Linked DNA regions of Homo sapiens: regions 2 and 3 are each linked to region 1. The links are contacts of gene promoters, found by promoter capture Hi-C in human tissues and cell types (Jung and others, 2019). All regions are on one chromosome and are shown on one strand. Each heading gives the region's core, a stretch centred on a gene start or on the middle of the fragment in contact. The rest is flanking DNA. Distances are from core to core; before and after follow the strand shown. Region 1 holds the start of PYGL (glycogen phosphorylase L). Region 2 overlaps TRIM9 (tripartite motif containing 9). Region 3 overlaps ABHD12B (abhydrolase domain containing 12B).

Region 1 (3,767 bases), core at 1,216-3,715:
TCTTAAGCAAAACTAAGAAACCGAGTAAGCTTGCTTTTGGTGTCTTTCATCCCTTCTTGTGTGCCCCCTAATTATTCACTCCCCAATGCCCAGACATTATGATGCCTTCTCCTGCTCAGAGACCTTTCTGGGAGGAAGACCTACTCAGACCTGGTATTCCCTCATCCTAGGCTCTACCCTATTTTTCATCCAGCTGTTAAAGCTGAGTGACTAATTTCACACTTATGTACGAATGACCCATAACTGGCTTAATGCTGTGACCATCTTGGGGGTATTCAAAGCTGATAAACACTTTTTTAAGTTATATAATAATCAAAGAAGCTTATCTTTCTGCTTTATTTCAAATTTCACCCCACAGGCCTTACTTATTTTTAAGATCAATGATTTTGATGGGCCCCCCCTTCCCACTCTTAATTCAGGGTATTTCTGGCCCCATCCGGATCCAAACTCTAATGCTCATCTCTTCCATACTGTCCTTTGCAGGTCATCGGTATTGCAAGAGTTGCATAAGGCCCAATTCAGTCTCTGCCCCAAAAGCTCAAGTCCAAACTTCAGAATCTGGGAGGACAAGGATTCAGGAAATTTTGTCAGAACTATGAGCTTTGAACTTTCACTTTTATGGTGAGGGTCACATTTGGTCTGAATCAATTAATCCATTACCCGCCCCCCCCCCCCCCCCCACCACCACCATGTGTGAATTCAAAATAATCAACTTGGGTTTATTATAAAAAACAAAATATATTAATATAAGTATACTAAGATTTTTCTAGAAAACTTGGCCGGGCGCGGTGGCTCACGCCTGTAATCCCAGCACTTTGGGAGACCGAGGAGGGCGGATCACAAGGTCAGGAGATCGAGACCATCCTGGCTAACACGGTGAAACCCCATCTGTACTAAAAATACAAAAAATTAGCCGGGCGTGGTGGCGGGCGCCTGTAGTCCCAGCTACTCGGGAGGCTGAGGCGGGAGAATGGCGTGAACCCGGGAGGCGGAGCTTGCAGTGAGCCCAGATCGCGCCACTGCACTCTGCCTGGGTAACAGAGTGAGACCCTGTCTCAAAAAACAACAAACAAATAAACTTAGAAGAATATATGTGACTATTGGCCGGGCGCGGTGGCTCACGCCTGTAATCCCAGCCCTTTGGGAGGCCGAGGCGGGCAGATCACGAGGTCAGGAGATAGAGACCATCCTGGCTAACATGGTGAAACCCTGTCTCTACTAAAAATAAAAAAATAAAAAATAAAAAATGCGAGGTGGCGGGCGCCTGTAGTCCCAGCTATTCAGGAGGCTGAAGCAGGAGAATGGCGTGAACCCGGGAGGCGGAGCTTGCAGTGAGCCGAGATCGCGCCACTGCACTCCAGCCTGGGCAACAGAGTGAGACTCCGTCTCAAAAAAAAAAAAAAAAGAAGAAGAAGAAAGAAAAAGAAAAGAAAAAGGAAAAAGAAAACTTAATTCTGGCAATGGACTGTTTCTAAAATAATATATTAATACTACTTAATGAGGAAGAAAAAACCTCTGACATCCTAAAATGCCAAGTGTTTGCCTTTACCAAGGTTTAAGCACACATAAACACGCATATTCAAATACCACCCAAAGTGGAGGTGCAAAGATCAGCCTGTACCGCACAGTAACACAGACTGGGTTGTTTTTTGTAAAGAAGGCAACTAGTCCAGTGAGTAATCCCTTCATTTTCCACACACATACCCTTCTGTTTTCTCCCTCTCCTCCCCCCACACCCTCCACTGCAGTTAAAACGTAATTCGAAGAAGCCTAAGGTAAAAGCCCCTGCCGCATAATGACCCTAGAGCTTCACCTCACCTACTCTGATTCTTAGTAACCTACCTCTAAGGATGAGAGACAGGGTGCTACGAGCGGGGCGAACTTTGGTCCAGGAGTTAAGAAACCTGAACCCTGGAGTCCTCAAAAAAAATGAATGAAAATAACAGAGGCGCCCTGAGGATCCAAGCTGGGGCGGTGCCAAGGGCTGGCAAGTGAGGTTGGGACAACAGAAGTCAAACGTGCCGTCCTTCCAGATCCCGGCGCTTATGGCGGAAGCCACTCCAGGTGAGAAATCCTAACAGTCATAATGGCATAACAAATAAACATCGGCAAAACAGCAGTCTGCCAACGACGTGCTTCCCTACACAGACGTCCTCCTGTCTCCACACTCTAGAGGGGAGAGGCGGAACAAATGCTGCCTCCGCAGATTTTGGAAATCCGGAAGGGAGCCTCCGAGCCCAGGTCCCGGGCTGGCAGGGGTCTCGCCGGCGCTTGGACCTCGTCTCCCACCCCCGAGCCCACTGCGGCCCCAGAGCCTCGGGAGGGGCCGGGCACTTCCTCTGCCCTCCGGCCTGGGGCAGGGGCCGGGACGCGGTGGGAGTGCAGCGGGGACGGCACCGCCCGAGGGGGCGGGCCCCAAACTTTCGTGCGCGTTGAAAGCTGCTGGCGCGGCGGGGCGGACTCCACCCCTGCCCGGCAGCCCAGCGCCTCCGGCCGCACTTCCAGCTCTCTGCGCAGCCCGCCGCGCAGCCCGCCGCCCCAGCCATGGCGAAGCCCCTGACGGACCAGGAGAAGCGGCGGCAGATCAGCATCCGCGGCATCGTGGGCGTGGAGAACGTGGCAGAGCTGAAGAAGAGTTTCAACCGGCACCTGCACTTCACGCTGGTCAAGGACCGCAACGTGGCCACCACCCGCGACTACTACTTCGCGCTGGCGCACACGGTGCGCGACCACCTGGTGGGGCGCTGGATCCGCACGCAGCAGCACTACTACGACAAGTGCCCCAAGGTAACCGGGGGCGGGACGGCGGGCCGGGGTCCAGCCCGGAGTCGGAGTCTCCGGCCGCGGCCGGGCGGGACGAGGTGGAGAACCCCTCAGAGTGGTCCCTTGCACCCGGTCCTTGCCCCGAAGTCCAGAGGAGACGTGTCTAGGCTGTGGGCGGGCAGCCTGGGGGACAGATTAGGCCTCCCAACAGACGCCGAACTCATGTCTCCGAGGTGCCACCCGCCAGTGTCCCGCCCAAACCACTGTGCCGTCCGCCCCTGGAAACCGCCAGGTGGGCAAAAGCCCAGGCCCCTCTCGCCTGTCCACTTCACAAACTTTTTTGGAACTTTGACTCTCAGCATTTAATCAAGAGGTGACGGGGGCCTCTTGTCCTGTATGCCGGACACTATTCTCTGCCCTGGACACTCAGCCCTAAACAAAAGGGACAAAAATCTTGCCTTGCTGGAGCTTGGTATTTTGGGAGGGGAGACAAACGCCGAGCTGGGAAAAGGTCGTAAGTCTCAGGCCTCTGGGAGTGGCTAAGTGTGGTGCAGAGGAGGGGCAGGGTCCCGCTCCAAGCGTAGAGCGCCGCCCACCCATTCTCCTGAGTGGGTGTAGCTCCTGGAATTCCGTGAGTCTTTCGCAAAGGCGGCCCAGGGCCAGGCAATGCCCTGGACTCGTCCTCCCCGAAGACACACACTCCCCCGACCCTTAGCCCTTCCACACCCGAGGCCTGCCCCCAGAGCTGCTGAGGAAGGCTGGTCAGGGACCACCTCCATCCACGGCGTGGGGGCGGGAGCAGAGACCTCCTTAGGGTGATTTTGGACCTACAGAGGGACAATATCTCTGCCTGACAGTTTGCGAAGAGGGCGAGAGGCAGTGGGGAAGGACTGGGGAGGACATGGCAGGGAGAGGGATTGTGTGCAGGCTGGAGTGAGGGCGGGTGTGAGTCTGTATTGGGAGAGGAAACTGGAGAAGCCAGGTAGAGACATATTGGAAAGAAT
Region 2 (3,408 bases), core at 814-3,313, 49 kb before region 1:
AGTGAGACAAGATTTAGAAAGCAAGAAAAAATATAGTGAATAGCTTATTTTAAAAAAAAAGATATGATCGATCTGTAACAATAGACAAAGCCTATAGGATCAAATAATTATCTCTTTTTTGTTTGTTTTTTAGAAATCAGTGAGAAAAATGCTATTAACAGAGTTTTGGTACATTCACTGCACTTATGCTTTATTAATCTTATTTCCTACAGTTTCCAGAAAGGTTTGCTTTAGAGATTTTTTTTTTCTTTGCTGGTATTGGGGGTGGTGGGGTGGTGCGTTCTGGCTTTCTAGTGTAACAAAATCTTTCACCTTCTTCTTAGCAAGAGTTAATCCCTTTTCAAACTTCAAAACAAAAATTCTGTATCACAGAAAGGTAAAATTTCATATGCGGTAACAAGTCTAACTTGTAATCACATGCATTTAGTCTGAGGTTTAAATTGCTCATCTTTTGTACTCTGTGAGCTTTCACAAAACCTTTTGCTGATCTAAAGGTAACGTTATGCAGGGGAGATCAAATGTCTACATTACTATAAATTTTGATTGGTTTTTTCTTCGAAAGCAAATTTATCTGTCTATTTATTGGGCAGTGCTTGATAAGTGACCACTGTGTGCTAGGCTGTGGGTATAGAGTGTTGAACAGACGTTATCCCTACTGTCCTGGAGTTTACAAGCTAGAAAAGGAAACAAGCCTTAGAGAAATAAACATATAAATAGTTCCATTTTTACACATTGTGATAAACACTGAAAAACAGGGAAAAGGGATTAGCAGGAAGATAAAATTTTTATAGGAGAATTAGGAAAGCAATAAAAATTAATTAAATTCAATGGAAATTATAAAGAACATGCTATTAAGAGAAAAGGAAAGGAGTCAGGTGCCGTAGCTCATGCCTGTAATCCCAGATACTTGGGAGGTTGAGACGGGAGGATCCTGTGAGCCCAGGAGTTTGAATCCTGCCTGGGCAACATAGTGAGACCCCATCTTAAAAAAAAGAGACAGAGAAAAGGAAAGGAGAATGCATTATTATATGAGTCCAAGTGTGGATAGTTCTCTGAAAGCAAAGTTCCTGGAGATGTATCAAAGACACCCATGGAAAAAACGCCAGTTGCACATCTAAACCAAATTACACTGACTTAAGATGAAATATAACTGTAAGCAATTAAGAATTTTAATGAAATTTTCAAATAAGGCCCCCAAGCCCCAAAACTTGGTCATGGGTATCTTTAAATTAATTCATCTAATAGCCATCATGGCTGTGCCAGTCTTTGAAACCATCTGCAAAAGAGTATCTGTTGAAAACATTACACAGCAAGGCCATCTTAATACACAGAGTTCTAAGGTTTATGCTATGTGTGAGACAAGCTGTACTCCTGTTTTAAAAAATCATACAGGGCTGAGAACAGGATAGGACATTTTCTGTTTATTTTTCTCTAGTTTCCCTCTTCCTATCTAAGTAGATTCTGCCTACAAAGTCTATTTAGGTAGGGGCTAGACATCTGACTTTGTAGGACAAAGTCTATCTATTTAGTCTATTTAGATAGACTTTGTGGCTACAAAGCCAGACATGTAGCATCTTCCAATCTCTTTCTGACCTTTCTACCTTCCTTTTTTTTGAGACAAGGTCACACTCTGTCACCCAGGCTGCAGTGCAGTGGCACAATCATAGCTCACTGCAGCCTCCTACACCTGGGCTCAAGGAATCCTCCCACCTCAGCCTCCTGAGTAGTTAGGACTACAGGCATGTGCCACCATGTCTGGCTAATTTTTTAAATTTTTTGTAGAGATGTGGTCTTGCTGTGTTGCCCAGGTTTGTCTCAAACTCCTGGCCTCAAGTGATCCTCCTCCCTTGGCCTCCCAAAGTACTGGGATGACAGGCATGAGCCACCATGTAGCCCCTACCTGCCTTTGATAAGGATCCTTGTGATTACCTTGAGCCCACCTGGATAATCCAGTATAATCCCCCCATCTCAAGATCCTTAATGTAATCACCTCTGCAGTGTCCCTTTTGCCATGGATAATAACATATTCACAGGTTCTGGGGATTCAGATGTGGACATTTTTAGATGGCCCATTATTCTTAGTACTATACTTTATGAGGAAGGTATTATTATTGTCATCTTTCTCTACTTATGGGAAACTGAGCTGCTGAGAGGTTAAGTATAATAATATGTCAGATCCAGGACTTTAAGCCGCCAATGCTCAGCACAGTCCGCTGTGGTGCTAACATTAGAAAAGTGCTATTTGCCCTCAACCAAATGGAAAGAAAGAGAGGGAAAACTATCCAAAGTCTGTCTGCAAGGTGACTGAAAACACCTTGTCAAAATGAAGCAGCGCTGTGTAGCTGCCTCATATGCTCATCCAGAAATCCCAGCCAGAAGGAGGACTTTACTACTTGCAGTCATGTTGGGCAGATCTCCTGAGGTCAAGAGTTCGAGACCAGCCTGACCAACATGGAGAAACCCTGTCTCTACTAAAAATACAAAATTAGCTGGGTGTGGTGGCGGGCGCCTGTAATCCCAGCTACTTGGGAGGCTGAGGCAGGAGAATCACTTGAACCTGGGAGGCAGAGGTTGCGGTGAGCTGAGATTGCACCATTCCACTCCAGCCTGGGCAACAAAAGTGAAACTCCATCTCAAAAAAAAAAAAAAGAGTCTTGTTGAAAAGAGTAGCGTTCCAGCTTTAAGAAGATGTGGGAGTGGCCATCATTTCCAGCATAATATCCAAACTCTTTATCAGGTCCTGTGCTCATTTTCATGTCTTTGCAGAAATTTCCTCCAGCTCCCTCCCATCCCAGGTGAGCAGGTCACCTAGAGAGGCCCTTCCCCCACTGGTACCAGTGGATACTCTTGGCTGGCAGTGACGAGATTTGCCCGGGAAGGAAAAGGAATATCAGAGCTACATCTCTGAGGCTCTGATACTACCAAATGAAAGTTACTACCAAATGAGGTCTGGCACTCAGAGCCCTGCTTGGGTTGACATCACAGAGCCATTTATTCACAGAAGCTTTCCAGCCCTGCCTGTCCTAACTGGGAGGGAAAATGGGGAGAAGGTAGTCAGTGATAATTAGAGAAAAGAGGGCTGGCTCTCAAGCCATCTACCCAGCATTTTTCAGGATTGTTTTATCTAATGACAAATAGGTTGGGATTCTTGAAACTACATCTTAAAAACTGCTTTCTAAAAAGTGGGCCTAGACAATGTTACTCATAAAGATTAAAATGTCTTTCTCCCCGATTAGACTCTCAGCATCACGCTGCCCCTTTCATTGTAGTAGCTCCTTCTTCTGTGCATTGAAGGAAACCACCCAGAAAAGATGTAATGGTGCAGACAAAATATAAACTTATGCTTCCATTTGTCTGAATGCAAATTGGCCTCAGATGCATCTGTCCAGAATCTTTTTGCAATTACTT
Region 3 (3,859 bases), core at 740-3,239, 43 kb after region 1:
AAAAAAATGGTGAAATGAGTATAGTATATTTCAGTCAGCATTGAGCCCTTAGTTTACCTTTTTCCCATACTCCAAAGGCACTGTCCTGTCATCCTCTCCATGTAAGATGAGAAGAGGAGAAGAAAGGAATTTAACACTAGGGACAAGTAGAAGAAAAGCATTCAGTTAAAGAATGATACATTGAGATTTCTCCTCTTCTAAGTTAAAGCTTTAGCAAAACATGAGGCCTGTCTAAATTACAAGAAATTTCTTTCCTTCCTTCCAAGGAATAACAATATCATACATTTAAAAATTTCACATAGTAGCTTTTTTTCTCCATGCAAGTTTCCCTCTCTCCCATTTACTCATGCAATTTAACTGGCTGTTTAATTAATTTACTTCTGCATGATTTTTGGAAATACTAAAAAAAAAAAACAAAAAACACTGAAACACTGATTTTGTACAGTGTTAGAAGAACCTTATATTCTTCTTTACTCCACCTATTTTGTAACATCTGAAATATTTTATTAAAAGACTAAAAAAGAAAACAAAACTCAAAACCTCAATAAAACAAAAACTATGACAGAATCAGAGACCTCTTTGTAGCAATTTGTTTACTTTTCTCCATAAATGTAGAGGATGGACGTGCAGTTAACAGGTCTGATTAGCTTCCTGGTCAACCCCCTAGTTTGCTAATTCAAAAGGGCTATGGCATGAAGAATGTCTTGTCTCCCACTCTAGTTACTTTCTCAAGCAATGCTTCCCTGTCCCCCCAAAATTCTGATACCCATCCATCTCTGCCACAGTGACTCACTGACACCCCTGAGAATGTTGGATTTTCTCAAGTGTGTTGACATAGAAAAATATATTGACAACTGTCTATTTGGAAGCATTCTTAAATTCTCTAACTGTAACAGGCTAACTTGATAAATTCTAGTCATTGGATTTGCTGTCACATTAGTAAGGTGGATGGTAGACGAGTTTTCATTATATGGGGAAAAGGGCCTAGAAGTCAGAGATGCCTCAAGAAATGTTAGGCTGGTTTTTTGTTTGTTTGTTTGTTTTACAGGATGTCACTCTGTCACACAGGCTGGAGTGCAGTGGCACAATCACAGTTGACTGCAACCTCAACCTCCCAGGCTCAAGTGATCCTCCTACTTCAGCCTCACGTGTAGTTGGGATGACAGGCACGTGCCCCCACGCCTGGCTAATTTTAAAATTTTTTGGTAGAGATGGTGTCTCCCTGTGTTGCCCGGGCTGGTTTCAAACTTCTGGGCTCAAGCTATCCTCTCACTTCAGCCTCCCAAAGTGCTAGGATTATAGGCATACGCTAACACTACCAAGCCCTTTAAAAGGTCTTGATAGGCTATAGATATACAACTTCGTTTATGAATTCAGAGAGAGTACTGAATTGGTGAAGTCATTGAATTAGACATGAGGAAAATAGCAAATACTAAAAATTCATAGATACTTTACCCAAATCTTAGTGCCCATCTAAGAAGCGCAGAACAATATTCTAAGAATAAGAATGATATTCAGGATGTCTCATGTCACCATCCAGTAAGTCACATGATAGTTGCCCCTAGAATCCTTTAGATACAGTAATAATGCATGTCTTTTCATCATTAACTTACTTTTCATCATTAGGAAAGATTATTTTGTCTTTTCTCAGGGCATCCATAAGTGTACGTAAAAATCCTGGAATGTTCCGGTAAATCTATTTTTAAAAAAGAAAAAAAAATTAATATTTGCCCCATAGCTATGCCATCTGTTATATAGTCTTTCACTATGAACCAGGGTAACACAGAGAGTAGTGCTTCTCTAAGTAAGGTAAACTTCACAAAAAACTTCTACGATTTAAAAAGTAATGCACGTCGGGAATTTGGAAAAAAAGAAAGGAATGTAGAAGAAACAAAGCACACATAATTCTGCCATCATAGACCATCATTGTTAACATTTTGTTTTCACTTCCTAAAAATGGCACAACTAACTCTTACTTCTCCATGTAGAAGCAGTGGTATGCAAAACCTAAAATTGCTTCTATTGTGAACATAACTGGTTTAGTTGGTGGACAGAATATTCTGATTAGTCAAAAATTCTGATGAAAATATACAATACATAGAAAATTGATTTTAGAGAATTTGAACATTACAAACTTTTGAATATGATTTAATATGCCAATGCCTTAAAAGACATTTTAGTTTTTAACAATGACCACAGGATTCCAGATATAACAATGCTCACTCTAGACATACTAAATTTGTTGTTTAATAGCAAAATCCAAGAAATAGAATGCTAGCTAAATCCACTTTTACAATGTTTTGACTCACATAGTCAACATGTAAGTTAGTTTATATGCCCTAGAAATATCCGTTTTATCTGGAAATAAGGAGTAAAGGATAAAAATCCTGAGCAATATTGCACCTTTCTCACAAACTTTGAATCCTGCCTCCAAAACTATATCCTAAACCCATTCATTTCTCCCCATCCCCACTATCACTTAGCCTAAGCCACCCTTCATCTCTTGCTTATACTAAGCTGCAATTCCAAGTGGCTCCCCGATTCTGCCTTCACCCTTCCATAATCCAGTTCCCACAGGAAAACCAGAATGATTATTTTAACGTGCAAATCAGATCGTAGCACTCTTTCGCTTAACACCCTCCAAAGGCAATTGGATTAAACCTGAACATGTCACCTTGGCCTCCAAGGCCCTGAAGAATCCGGCGGCTTCCTGCCTCCCTCTCCAGCCTCATCTCCTATCACTAAGCACCTTCCTGTCCACCTCCTGGCTCTGCTGCCTTCTGCTTCTGGAACATGTCAGGCCTGATCCCACCTCAAGGCGCTTGCCTTTACTTTTACCCCAGCCTGAGATCTCTATATTTTCCCATCAGCTGGCTTCATCTCAGGCAGGTCTCAGCTCAGATGCTATTTCTTCGGAGCTGTTTTCCATAACCAGCTACCAAACCTTGCCCCCACCACCCAGTCATTCTCCATCACATTATTTTGGTGCTTTCACAGAACTTCTCACTATTGGATTTCTTTTTTAATGTATTTATCTTCTATCTGTTTCTCCATCAACAATATGAACTTCGTAGGTAAATGGACCACAACTTTCTTATTCCCTGTGGTGTCCTCAAAAACTAGAAAAGTTCCTGGTACATAATAGACACTTCATAAATATTTGCTAAAGACAAAATGAGTCTATTGTGCAAATATCCCTGGCGTACACTTTGTTATTATCTGTCATTTTCATTTAGTATGATTGAATTTCAGATATTACTTATTTTATTTATTTGTTTGTTTATTTTGAGACAGGGTCTCAGTCTGTTGCCTAGACTGGGAGTGGGTGCAGTGGCATGCTCATGGCTCACTGCAGCGCTCAAACTCCTGGGCTCAAGCAGTCCTCCCTCCTCAGCCTCCATAGTAGCTGGGACTACAGGGGTGTGCCACCACACCCAACTAATTTTTTTGTACAGAAGGGGTTTCACCATGTTTCCTAGACTGGTCTTGAACTCCTGGGCTCAAAGCCATCTTCTGGCCTTGACCACCCAAAGGGCTGGGATTACAGGCATGAGCCACAGTGCCTGGCCCAGATTTAAATTTTTTTTTTCTTTTTTTTTTTTTTAGACAGAGTCTCACTCTGTTGCCTAGGCTGGAGTGCAGTGGTGCAATCTTGGCTCACTGCAACGTCTGCCTCCTGGGTTCAAGCAATTCTCCTGCCTCAGCCACCCAAGTAGCTGGGACTACAGGCATGCATCACCACGCCCAGGTAATTTTGTATTTTTAGTAGAGATGGTGTTTCGCCATGTTGGCTAGGCTGGTCTCGAACTCTGACCTCAAATGATCCGCCTGCCTCAGCCTCCCAAAGTGCTGGGATTAC

Evidence for each region. The method cuts DNA at HindIII sites, captures the fragments that hold promoters and counts their contacts. A contact is called where the count stands out against the background at its distance.
Region 2: a contact is called between a fragment that was not itself captured here and the fragment with the promoter of PYGL in region 1, in 2 of the 25 tissues and cell types used here (pancreas and psoas muscle).
Region 3: a fragment that was not itself captured here is called in contact with the fragment with the promoter of PYGL in region 1 in 1 of the 25 tissues and cell types used here (aorta).

Annotation. Positions count from the first base shown.
Region 1 is chr14:50,943,181-50,946,947 of GRCh38, reverse strand. PYGL (glycogen phosphorylase L) reads left to right here and starts at 2,465. Exons shown (of 20, transcript NM_002863.5): 1 at 2,465-2,787. The coding sequence starts at 2,545. It overlaps LOC400212 (a long non-coding RNA gene), which reads left to right. Exons shown (of 4, transcript NR_170195.1): 4 at 484-658. RefSeq lists a silencer at 2,286-2,445 and an enhancer at 3,114-3,637. The HindIII fragment of the contact is 9,372 bases long and covers 1-3,767 here.
Region 2 is chr14:50,992,613-50,996,020 of GRCh38, reverse strand. The region is part of intron 7 of TRIM9 (tripartite motif containing 9); the gene reads left to right. Among named protein-coding and RNA genes, the nearest start is that of PYGL, 50 kb to the right of the region's middle. The HindIII fragment of the contact is 8,014 bases long and covers 1-3,408 here.
Region 3 is chr14:50,899,666-50,903,524 of GRCh38, reverse strand. It overlaps ABHD12B (abhydrolase domain containing 12B), which reads right to left. Exons shown (of 13, transcript NM_001206673.2): 10 at 1,614-1,696; 11 at 58-136. Among named protein-coding and RNA genes, the nearest start is that of ABHD12B, 30 kb to the right of the region's middle. The HindIII fragment of the contact is 6,626 bases long and covers 1-3,859 here.